Linked DNA regions of Homo sapiens: regions 2, 3 and 4 are each linked to region 1. The links are contacts of gene promoters, found by promoter capture Hi-C in blood cells and fetal thymus (Javierre and others, 2016). All regions are on one chromosome and are shown on one strand. The core of a region is centred on a gene start or on the middle of the fragment in contact, and the rest is flanking DNA. Distances in the headings are between cores, read along the strand shown. Region 1 holds the start of KPNA6 (karyopherin subunit alpha 6). Region 2 overlaps PEF1 (penta-EF-hand domain containing 1). Region 3 overlaps SPOCD1 (SPOC domain containing 1). Region 4 overlaps BSDC1 (BSD domain containing 1).

Region 1 (2,806 bases), core at 113-2,612:
CAACCTGGAGTATAGTGACACAGTCATGGCACTGCAGCCTTGACCTCCCGGACTCAAGTGATCCTCTCGCCTCAGCCGCCCAAGTACAAGTGCTCATTACCATGCCTGGCTAATTTTTTTCTTTTAATTTATTTTTTGTGGAGATGGGGTCTCACTGTGTTGCCCAGTCTGGTCTTGAGCTCCTGGCCTCAAGTGATTCTCTGGCCTCAGCTTCCCAAAGTGTTAGGATTATAGACAAGCGTGAACCACCACACCCAGCCCTATTTTTCTATTTCTCATCTCCCAATAAGATTGCAACCTCAACTAGGGCTACCTACGTAGGCCTAATCAGAAAACCTGAGTTTAGTCTTACTTCTTTGTTTCCTTCTCTCCATAGCCTCATTGAGCAAGGCACTTCCCCTCTCTAGATGATTCGTTGTTCATATTCAGCCCAAGGTCTATGATTGCTGTTTTTGTTTTTAGAGACGGAGTTTTGCTCTTGTCTCCCAGGCTGGAATGCAGTGGCACAATCTCGGCTCACTGCAACCTCTGCCTCCCGGGTTAAAGCAATTCTCCTGCCTCAGCCTCCCAAGTAGATTACAGGCATGCGCCACCACACCCAGCTAATTTTTGTATTTTTAGTAGAGACCATGGGCAGGCTGGTCTCGAACTCCTGATCTCAGGTGATCCGCCCGCCTCGGCCTACCCAAAGTGCTGGGATTACAGGCGTGAGCCACAGCGCCCAGCCGATTGGTTTCAACTATTAGAAGAAGGGATAAACTGGCCCGGAGCGGTGGCTCAAGCCTGTAATCCCAGCACTTTGGGGGCGGGCGGATCACCTGAGGTAAGGAGTTCAAGACCAGCCTAGCCAACATGGTTGAAACACCGTCTCTAGTAAAAATACAAAAATTAGCCAGGCGTGGTGGCAGGCGCCTGTAATCCCAGCTACTCGGGGGGCCGAGGCAGGAGAATCGCTTGAACTCGGGAGGCAGAGTGTGCAGTGAGCCGAGATCGCGCCATCGCACTCCAGCCTGGGGGGACAAGAGCGAGACTGCGTCTCAAAAAAAAAAAAAAAAAAAAAAAAAAAAAAAGGAGGGATAAGCTTCTGGGAGAAAAAGTTCCGGGTAAAGAAATCTCACTATAAAAAAGAAATAGTAGCAGAAACAGCTGGGAACTCCTAGACACACTTAACTTTCTTAGGTATCCCTTCCAGTCTCCTCCCAACCACTCCTTTCCTATTTCATTTCCACTCCCCACCTTTAGTAGCTGCGGTCTCTTTAAGTGCGCACTTTCGGTGTAATGATAGGCGATTGGGCCAATAAAGCGTTTCGTCCTGGAGTTAACTGGTTTGTCCCTTTCGGGCTGCCGTCCTACAGATCCGCCATATTGTCTACTGAAAGCTGCCGCTGAAGCTGCCGCCGTTGCCTCCGCCGCCAAGAGTGAGCGAGCGGACCCGCGATGGGTGAGTGAGGAAACCACGCAGTAGGGTTCTTGGGCTCAGGGAGTGTCGGGGCCTGGGATTTGGCGAGAGCCTGTCTCCGGTCTGCGGAAGATGTCTGCATCCCCTCTAGCTAGGTCTGAGGGGAAAAGTCAGGCCGGGAGTGCCCCTCTTGCCAGTTTTGGGCCGAGCTAGGGCCCGTGCTGGAAGCAGTCCTTTGGTGCTGGTTTCGGGGACACCTTGGCACGCCTGGAGCCCCCCACATGGTGGCCTCGGGCAGGAGCCCACGTGTTCCTGGGAGGTAGAAAGGGGCCTACTCTCTGTCCTGCGCCCAGACTGGGGCTGGGGGACGGGCTCCCGGCGGCAGGCCTGGGCGGCGCTAAGGTAGCTTTCTCCTGGGTTGTGTTTGGCCAACGCGTGTCTTGACTAGATTCAGTGGCTCCCCTGAACTCAGGGAAGTCCTACCTACGTAGCGAGGTGGAGTCCTCTAGTGAGGGGACGTCAGGCGAGCCAGCACTAGGCCGGTAAGCATGGGCAGCCAGGCCGAGGGCAGCTTGCGCCGCTGAAGGCCGGGAGAACGGAATCAAGGCGGAAATAGTGTGGTTCGGTTGGGCTCAGAGTGGCATCGCTTGTGATGGTAGAACACCAAAGGCCAAGTCCTCTTGGCCATCTTTAGGTTGAGGACTTTAGGTTTCTGGGCTGGCCCTGGTAAGGAGAAAAGGAGCGACCTGTTGATCTTTCTGAGGGGACTCCGGCTGGCAAGGCCTCTGTTCAGAGAGAATACCATGGCGAAGTCTTTGGATTTAGAGACAGAACCAACAGTGGTAATTCCTCTAAAGCAGTAAAAATTGTGAAATTTGCTAAGCTCTTTCTACGTACGGGCATTGTTCTGATTGCTTTACATGTCTTGTTTTACTTAATTTGTACAACCTAAGGAAATAGATGCTACCATTGCCATTTTACAGATGTGGAAGCTGAGCTTTAGAGAGGTAAAGTAACTTACCCAAGGTCATGCAGTGGCTAAGCCAGGGTGAACACTCCCAAGCCTAGTTTGTAACTGCTGTTTGTTGTTGTTGTTGATAGAGTCTTGCTCTGTCGCCCAGGCTGGAGTGCAGTGACGCGATCTCGGCTCACTGCAACCTCCTGCCTCCCGGGTTCAAGCGATTCTCCTGCCTCAGCCTCCCGAGTAGCTGGGATTACAGGCACCCACCACCACGCCCGGCTGATTTTTGTGTGTTTTTGGTAGAGACAGGGTTTCGTCATGTTGGCCAGGCTGGTCTCGAACCCCTGACCTCAAGTGATTCGCCTGCCTCGGCCTCCCAAAGTGCTGGGATTACAGGTGTGAGCCACTGCGTCCAGCCTGTTTTTTTGTTTTGTTTTTTTTTTTAA
Region 2 (2,806 bases), core at 96-2,595, 470 kb before region 1:
ACAAAGCAGGTGCTGCCAGGCAGGTCTCCTGCCCTTCTGGCTATTGTAGTCTGGCAGCAATTAAACCCTTTCCTTTCTGTCCTGCATTTGAAGACCTCCTCTGTAGTTTACAAAGTACTTTCACAAACACAAACACTACAGGCAGAATCTTGCCAATGGCCTCCTAACAGAAAAAAGGAAGATGTTAGTTGCCCTCTTTTACAGATGAAGAAACTAAGCCACGGAGCTGTTAAAGGACTTCATTCAGCACGCATTTTCAGAGTGACAATATTGTACTAGGCTCTGTAGTAGATCTGAGGACACAAGTAAATGAAGTCCTGCCCTTAAGGGGCCCACAGATAATTGTGATACAATCTGATCAGTGCCATCAGAAAAATCTACTTATGTGCTATCAAGGAAGCTTAGATGGAGGAATTTGTGCTGTTTGCAGAATGAATAAATGAACAATGTATGAAGTGGGTCAAGGAAAGCTTCCTGGAGGAAGTGGCAGTGATATTGGAAATGGTCCTTGAAGGATGCATAGACATTTTCCAAAAGGCAGGCAGGGAAGGACACTCCAGACAGAAGAGAGAAGAAAGACAAACGCACAGACTTAAGAGTGAGCATAGTGCATTCAGGGAATGAGTTAAACCGCAGAGCCAAGAATGCAGTGTGAACCCAGAAAGGCAGGCCCTCTATACACTCGTTGACCAAGCACCTCTCCCCCTGCATTTCAGTTAGCCGTGAGGTATCAGTGTCTAAGAGTAGTTTCTGTCTAGCATCTCCCCCACCCAACAGTAAGCTCCCCAGGGGCAGACACTGCGCCTCACTCATCATGGCACCCCAGGGCCCAGCACAGTGCCTGGCACCTGCAAGCCTCCACAAATATTTGGACAAATGAACACCACTCTAAAGAGTTTTGTTGGGGCTTTATGCCGGAGAAAACAGAGCACTATAGAAGGGTTTCCAATAGGAGAGGAACGTGATGAGAACCTTGTTTAGAGAAGTAACCAGCGGCGGTGTGGAGGATGAGCCAGTGAGGGAGGCAGTAGCCCAGGTGCTGGGCAGGCAGGGCATGAACCAGACAGCACACTTGGGGATGAAGAGAACGGAATGGATTCTGAAGCTATTTCAGAGATAGACCAGACATGACTTGGTGACTAATTAGATTAGGAAAGAGATGGAGGAGGAGTGAGGAAAGTGTTCAGAATGACTCGGGTTTCTAGCTTTTGCACAAGATGAAGGAGGTGGAGCCAACTGAGACAGAATGCAGGCTGCACAGGAAGTTTGGGGAAGAAGATGAGGTGGTCCCCACCTCACAGAGGGTCACCCAGTGTCACTGAGTTGTTAGCAAAGGTCTGAACCAGAAATGAAAAACAGCATCCCTGACTCCACGTTCTTTTACACTACTCCATGCTCCCAGCCCTTTTTAGAGTTTTTCCAAGAGTTATTTCATACTGATAAACAGGATTGTGAAGGCAGGTGGAGGGGAAGGACAGGAAGAGTTCAGTAACTGCAGCTTCTGAAGCAACACAGAAAAACTATCTCTAGGGCTCTGGCTGATTGCAAATAAGCTACATCTGATGCCCTGGGGGGACTGGGGGCAACAAACATTTACTGAGGCTCTGCTAGGTGCTTCCAGTTCAACCAGCTCTCACTAATCCTCAGTCCTGTGAGGTAAACAGTGTCATCTCCATTTTGCAGATGAGAAAATTAAGGGGCAGAGAGTTTAATAACATGCCTGAGATCATGCAGCTAGAATGGGCAAGTTGGGATTCAAGTCAGGGTCTGCATGACTCTACACTACCCCCTTCTGTTTGTTCACTCAATAAATGAGTGAGTGCCTAGCATGTGTCTGTGTGAGGGACTGTGCTAAATGTCTTTGTCAAATATAATGAATTTCTACTGTGGACAGAGGTAGAGGGGAAGGCTGGATTGGGTGATCTCTCAGAGCCTTCAAGCCCAGAAATCAGGGACTCTTAGAAAAATCTCATTCTTTTTCGTCCCAGCACCTAGAGTCACTTTGAGAGCCAAGCCACATTTTGGAAGACACCCCAAAGACTCTTCAGTTCAACCTCTCAGTTAATAATGGAATCTCTGCAGAACCACCTGGAATCTCTACCTGCACTTGCGCAAGCAGTAGGGAGCTTACCTCCTCCCAAATAACCACCTCAGAAAGTCCGGTATTTTTTTTTTCTTTCCAGTTCTGAGGACTCAAGTCTTCTAACCTCAAGACCCCTGTGAAGCTTAAAGGTATCAACGGCTGTTCCAAGCTGAGCCCTGATGACGAATGGAGGAGGGAGCATTGCAAAGACAAGTTTGTACCCCAGAGCTACCCTTCAAGTGCACAGGAGGAGGTGGGAAGCCCAAACTAAGGGGTTAAACAATCACAGGAAGACAAGAGGAACAGTTCAAGCATTCACCAGCAGAGCCACTTGAAATAGGAGAGAAGCACGCAACCAATAAACAATGAGCCAAGAACCATCCCCAGACTTCAATTACCTCTGTGCTCACACTTTCAAATCTTTCCAGCTTCATCACTCCTGAGCTACAGACCCACATATCCAGCAGCCTACTGGACCTTCCCTCCAAACCCATGCCTCCCTGTGTTCTCATCTCAGTGAATGGAGCTCCGTTCTGCTTAATCATCCAAACCTAAGGCCAAGTTTTCTCAAATCTACCTCCCAAGTGCTTCTCAAATCTCCTCTACCAGGTCACAGTTCTCTTTAGCCTAGATTACCTCAATAGCGTCAAAACCGGTATCCCTGCCTCCTGTCTCTCCTGCTTCAATCCATTCTCACAGCACCCCACAGTAAGCACTCCAAAG
Region 3 (2,806 bases), core at 126-2,625, 300 kb before region 1:
AGCTAGTATTAGAACCTAGCTCTGTCTGACTCCAAAGCCCAAGCACTTAGCTGCGGGGCTATGTGGAGACATGGAAAGATTCATGGAAAGATGTCAAGAAGTATTATTGGGAGAAAAAGAAAAAATAGGTTACAGAACAATATCTGTTGCATAAGCCCATTTATGTAAATATATATTTACAGATACATAATAGAGGTTATCTCTGGGGAATGAAATTCCAGGGAGACTTTCACTTTCTACTTGTAGGAACTTGGGTATTCATGTTATTCAAAACGAGCGTGTATTTCTTTTACAACCGGAAACATGTTTTTTTATTAAAAACAAGTTCAGAACAATACGTGTGGTGTGCTACCATTCGCGTTACAGACAGAACGAATTTTAAAATTTGTATTTGCTGGAATACACATAAAATATCACAGGAAGTATCTGCAAGAACCTATCTAACCCAGGCTGCCAGTAGGGAAGCAACTGGGTGCCGGGAAAGATGAGTTTCACTTTTTTTGTTTTTTTGAACCATGGAAATGAATCAGCCTTTCAAAAAAGTAAACTGAGAAAGAGGCAGAAAAAAAAAAAACAAAGAAAACAGGGGTGTGGGAAGAATATCAAGACCAGCCCTTCACAGTTCAAAGCCTTTTGGCTGGCCCGTCTCAGGGGTCCTAACGTCCATGTTATGAGGCTCCAAAACAACAGGCAGGAGAATGAGATGAGCGAAGCCTTTCAACACTGGACTATCAGACCAGAATACAAACTATGTATGTATAATATGTTTAAAGAAATAAAAGAAGGAGACGAACACATGAGTGAAGGACAAAAAAACTACAAAAAACAACCGGGCAGATTTGATCGGGAACCAAACACGACTTCTGGGAATGAAAAATATAACGATCTTAATTAAAATTTAAAAACTCAATATATAGATTTAATAGCATATTAGATGCAGCTGAAACAAATTAGCTAACTGGACAACACATTTAAATAAATTAAATGTGTTGCACTTTGTGAACACTGTGAAGCACTAAGAGACACATCACGCCTGTAATCTCAGCACTTTGGGAGGCCGAGACAGGAGGATCGCTTGAGGCCAGAAGTTTGAGAGCAGCCTGGGAAACATAGCGAGACCCTGTCTCTACAAAAACAAGAAAAAAAAAAAAAATAGCCAGGCATGGTGGTGTGTACCTGTAGTCCCAACTACTCAGGAGGCTGAGGCGGCAGAATTGTTTGAGCCGGAGAAGTCAAGGCTGCAGTGAGCTATGATCACACCACTGTACTCTAGCCTGGGTGACACAGCAAGACACTGTCTCAAAATAAAGGAAAGGAAAGGAGAGGAGAAGAAAAGAAAGGAGAAGAAAGGAAAGGAAAGGGAAAGGAAAGGAAAGGAGAAGAAGGAGGAGGAGGAGGGAAAGAAAGAAGAAAGAAAGGTAGGAAGAAAGAAGGAAGGAAGGAAGAAAGGAAGGAAGGAAGGGTGAAAATGATTAATCTAAAGTTCCAGAAGGAGAGAGGAAAGAGAATGGGTAGAAGCAGTGTTTAAAGAAATAGGGCTAAGAATTTTTCAAAATTGATAAAAGACAAAAATTTACAGATTCAAAAAGCTCAGTGAATCTCAAACAGAATAAATAAAAGGAAATTCATACCTAGACACATCAACACTCATGATAAGGAGATCCTTACACGCATAAAGAGAAAAAATAATAGCTAACACTTGACTAGCACTTAAAATGTGCTACATCTGTGGCAAGTGCTTTACATATTAGTTAATTTAATCCTCACCATAATCTTATGAGGTACTGGTACTGTTATCTCCCCCATTTTACAAAAGAGGAAACTAAGGCACATAGAGGCACAGGGAGGTTAATCAGCTTGCCCAATGTCACACAGCTAGAAAACCAAAGAGCTGGGATTTAAATCCAGACAGTCTGATTCCAGAGGCCATAACTTCAACTACTATTCTATGATCCCATTCACCAAAATACCTTTCATCTATAAAGGAATGGCAATTAGACTAACAGCTACTTTCTCAATAGTAATAATGAAAAGCAAAACATAAAAAAATAATATTTTCAATGTGCTTAAAGAAAATAACTATCAATTGTGGACCCAGACAAAATACTTTTCAAGAATAAGGAAGAAATAAAGATACTGTAGAGAAAAATCAAGAGAGCTGTTATTTTTCTTGATAATTTTGCTTTGCTCAATAAACAAAATGCTAAAAGATAAACCTGAGGCAGAAGGAAGGAAAAACAATCCCAGATAGATAAGATGAAAGGAAGAATTTTGAGCAAAGAAAATGATGAAGATGTTGTTAAATCTAAATAAACATTGATTGTATGAAACTATAATAACAGTGTGTAATTTGGGGATTTTTTAAAAAAAAAGATAGGACTAATTTACTGGATAACAACAACACACAAATTGGAAAGGTACGCGCTTGGAATTAGAGCATTCCAAGATCCCTATATCATTTTGGAGTAAGACAAAGATTGTAACTACCTTTATACTTTGATAAGTTAGTTATTTGTGCTCAAATTTCTTTTTTCTTTCTTTCTTTCTTTTTTTTTTTTTTGAGATGGAGTCTCGCTCTGTCACCGAGGCTGGAATGCAGTGGCATGATCTTGGCTCACTGCAACCTCCACTTCCCGGGTTCAAGCGATTCTCCTGCCTAGGCTTTCTGAGTAGCTGGGACTACAGGCGCCCGCCACCACACCCGGCTATTTTTTTCTTGTATTTTTAGTAGAGACAGGGTTTCACCGTGTTAGCCAGGATGGTCTCCATCTCCTGACCCTGTGATCCACTGGCCCCGGCCTCCCAA
Region 4 (2,806 bases), core at 145-2,644, 280 kb after region 1:
TTCTATTTTTACTTTTTTTGTTACAGAGAAATTGAGTTGAAATATGAGGCAGTATGTGAAGTTATTTGCCTTCGGGTTTAAGAATTAGTAATTACTAATTGTATTAGTAACAGCAATAGCTTGGAAAGCTATTTTATGAGTAATTCTTAACAATTTAATATCAGTAAAAAGGCATGTGATTTTTTACATTCAACAAAGGAGGAAGCGGTCAAGAGAAAGACTAGATCAGATTCTCTTGGAGGCCTTCTTGGTTCTACCATCCCGAGGTTCTATTCATATACAAAGCTCCTTTGGGCAGAATGCATATTTGCTCCTGCTAAACCAATCTGTTTCTCAGCCTGCACCCAGACCTCACTTGAGAAAGCAGACCCTCAGCTCACTTCTAGGTCTTGCCCTGTCTTGCTTCAGACTCACCAACTCTAGGATGCTTCCTGGAGTATCTCAGTGGCCACTCCCCCTGCAAGCCCTTTCATCTTACACGGGGATAATCACCTGCATTTTTTAAAGCATGTTTTTGAGCGCTCCTGTGGTTTGTTCTTCTGGGAAGGGCCTGCCCACTTTTCATTAGCTTGGGAAGTTTCTGAATGGCACAGTCTATCAGCTACAGGCTTCTCTAGGGGTGGTAATCATGCCTCCATATCAACTCAGGACTCCTTAATTGGGGGTGGAGGAGGTCATTTACTTATTTACTTTTATTAAAATTTTAAAAAATATTTCACAGCACCATGAAATTGTGCCCTGGGTCATTTACCGATTCACTCTTTCTATCCACACTGCCACCATCTTAGTCCAGGCCAACTTATTCTTTCACCTGGATTCCTCCCAGGTTGTCTCAGCCACCTTTACTTCATTCTCCTTATGACACCCAGTGGGTGCTTTGTCTGTCAGGGCAGACCGTGCTGCTTTACACTCTTTAAGTTTACACACTATCCTAAGAGCAAATTGAAAATCCACCTTTACTTACAAAGCCTATATAACTTGGCCTCTGGCAGACTGGTATCCCCTACCACTGTGCCGTTCACTGAGCTCCAGCTGGCCTTCCTCAAGTTTCTAAAATGCCCTAGCATCTGTCCTGCCTCAGAGTATCTGAACACATTGTTTCCTCTCCCTGATACAGAGTTCTAACTCTTCAAAAAAACCAAGTCTGTAAACACGATGAAGGAACCCTCTTATCTGGAAAACTCCTGTTCATCCTCAACGTCTATGCTTCATTTCCCTAGAGGGGCTTCCTGCTGCCTCTTCAGGCTCAGCTGGCTCTCCCTGCTTTATCTCTTCTTCTTTTTTTTCTTTTTTTTTTTTTTTGAGATGGAGTTTCGCTCTGTTACCCAGGCTGGAGTGCAGTGGCGCGATCTCTGCTCACTGCAACCTCTGCCTCCCGGGTTCATGCCATTCTCCTGCCTCAGCCTCCCGAGTAGCTGGGACTACAGGCGCCCGCCACCAAGCCCAGCTAATTTTTTGTATTTTTAGTAGAGACGGGATTTCACTGTGTTAGCCAGGATGGTCTCGATCTCCTGACCTCATGATTCGCCCACCTTGGCCTCCCAATTTATCTCTTTTCTAACACTGAACATAGTTTAGACTTCAGATGACCTGTTCAATGTCTGTCTTCCTGGATAAACTGTGAGTTGTGTGAACACAGGTCCTATGTGTTTTGTTCCCTGATGGTTCCCCAGTATCTGACACAGAGCATACAGTAGGTACTCAAAAAATGTTTGCTTGTTAAATTTACATGGACCATTGAAATTTCAATTATGTAACCACTTGTGTGACTAAACAGTTGTCTTCCCGCTAGACTGTGAGCTCTGAGCAGACAAACATGAACATACGTTGCCCTCAAGCAGGTCACAGTCTACTGGGGAAAATGGTCCCATGATAGTGCTGATGTGCAAGGGCAGAGCAGTAGCTGCTGTACTATGGGGAGGTTGGGAAGATGTGGTGACCAGAAGCCTGGAATGGGCCCTTAAAGAATGAACAGGAGTTGGTTAAGAAGTATTGATGTGGGCCAGGTGCAGTGGCTGATGCCTGTAATCCCAGCACTTTGGGAAGCCGAGGCAGGAGGATTGCTTGAGCCCAGGAATTTGAGACCAGTTTGGACACTATGGCAAAACCGTCTCCACACACACACACACACACACACACACAAATACAAAAAATTAGCCAGAAGTGGTGGTACACGCCTATAGTCCCAGCTACCCAGGAGGCTGAGGTGGGAGAATCACCTGAGCCTGGGTGGTTGAGGCTGCAGTGGGCTGTGATCATGCCACTGCACTCCAGTCTGGGTAACAGAGTGAGACCCTGTCTCAAAAAAAAAAAAAAAAAAGAACAGGAGTCAGCTAAGAAGTGTTGACATGGGTTTAGTGACGTCTACAAGCATTACAGTCCTGATGGACATAAAATGTGAAGCAAGAGTGGTGAGGGATAAAGCTGGAGAGGTTGCCAAGGGCAACCAGGGAGAGCCTGGTCAGCCCTATGGATGATGGGGAGCCACCAAAGGTTTGAAGTGGGTGGGACATGAGATTTGCCTTTTCACTAAATTACTCCAGTGACTGGAATGGAGGAAAGGTCCAGAGGCGAGAAGATTAGAAGAGGAAGAAGGAAGACCAGTCAGGAGGCTGCTGCAATAATCCAGGAAAGAAAATAGAAAAATGTGAGTAAGGACAATGCTAGTAAAGATGGAGAGGATGAGACTGGTTCAAGATACAGGAGATGGAAGAAGGTGGATTTGGTGACTGAACAGGTATGTTGACTGAGGGCTAGAAAAGAATCATGGAAGCACCACAGGCTGCTAAAATAGGTGACTGCGTAG

Evidence for each region. The method cuts DNA at HindIII sites, captures the fragments that hold promoters and counts their contacts. A CHiCAGO score of 5 or more calls a contact.
Region 2: a contact is called between a fragment that was not itself captured here and the fragment with the promoter of KPNA6 in region 1, in 3 of 17 cell types (naive CD4 T cells, total CD8 T cells and non-activated CD4 T cells). The highest score is 6.7, in naive CD4 T cells.
Region 3: a contact is called between a fragment that was not itself captured here and the fragment with the promoter of KPNA6 in region 1, in 1 of 17 cell types (megakaryocytes). The highest score is 5.1, in megakaryocytes.
Region 4: a fragment that was not itself captured here is called in contact with the fragment with the promoter of KPNA6 in region 1 in 2 of 17 cell types (naive CD4 T cells and non-activated CD4 T cells); the score reaches 6.7 in naive CD4 T cells.

The regions. Positions count from the first base shown.
Region 1 is chr1:32,106,694-32,109,499 of GRCh38, forward strand. KPNA6 (karyopherin subunit alpha 6) reads left to right here and starts at 1,363. Exons shown (of 14, transcript NM_012316.5): 1 at 1,363-1,441. The coding sequence starts at 1,438. RefSeq lists enhancers at 1,057-1,575, 1,189-1,618, 1,576-2,093. The HindIII fragment of the contact is 1,772 bases long and covers 1,080-2,806 here.
Region 2 is chr1:31,638,598-31,641,403 of GRCh38, forward strand. All of the region lies in intron 1 of PEF1 (penta-EF-hand domain containing 1), which reads right to left. Among named protein-coding and RNA genes, the nearest start is that of PEF1-AS1, 4.1 kb to the right of the region's middle. The HindIII fragment of the contact is 1,755 bases long and covers 469-2,223 here.
Region 3 is chr1:31,802,440-31,805,245 of GRCh38, forward strand. The region is part of intron 2 of SPOCD1 (SPOC domain containing 1); the gene reads right to left. Among named protein-coding and RNA genes, the nearest start is that of SPOCD1, 12 kb to the right of the region's middle. The HindIII fragment of the contact is 4,282 bases long and covers 1-2,806 here.
Region 4 is chr1:32,387,671-32,390,476 of GRCh38, forward strand. All of the region lies in intron 2 of BSDC1 (BSD domain containing 1), which reads right to left. Among named protein-coding and RNA genes, the nearest start is that of BSDC1, 5.4 kb to the right of the region's middle. The HindIII fragment of the contact is 8,104 bases long and covers 1-2,806 here.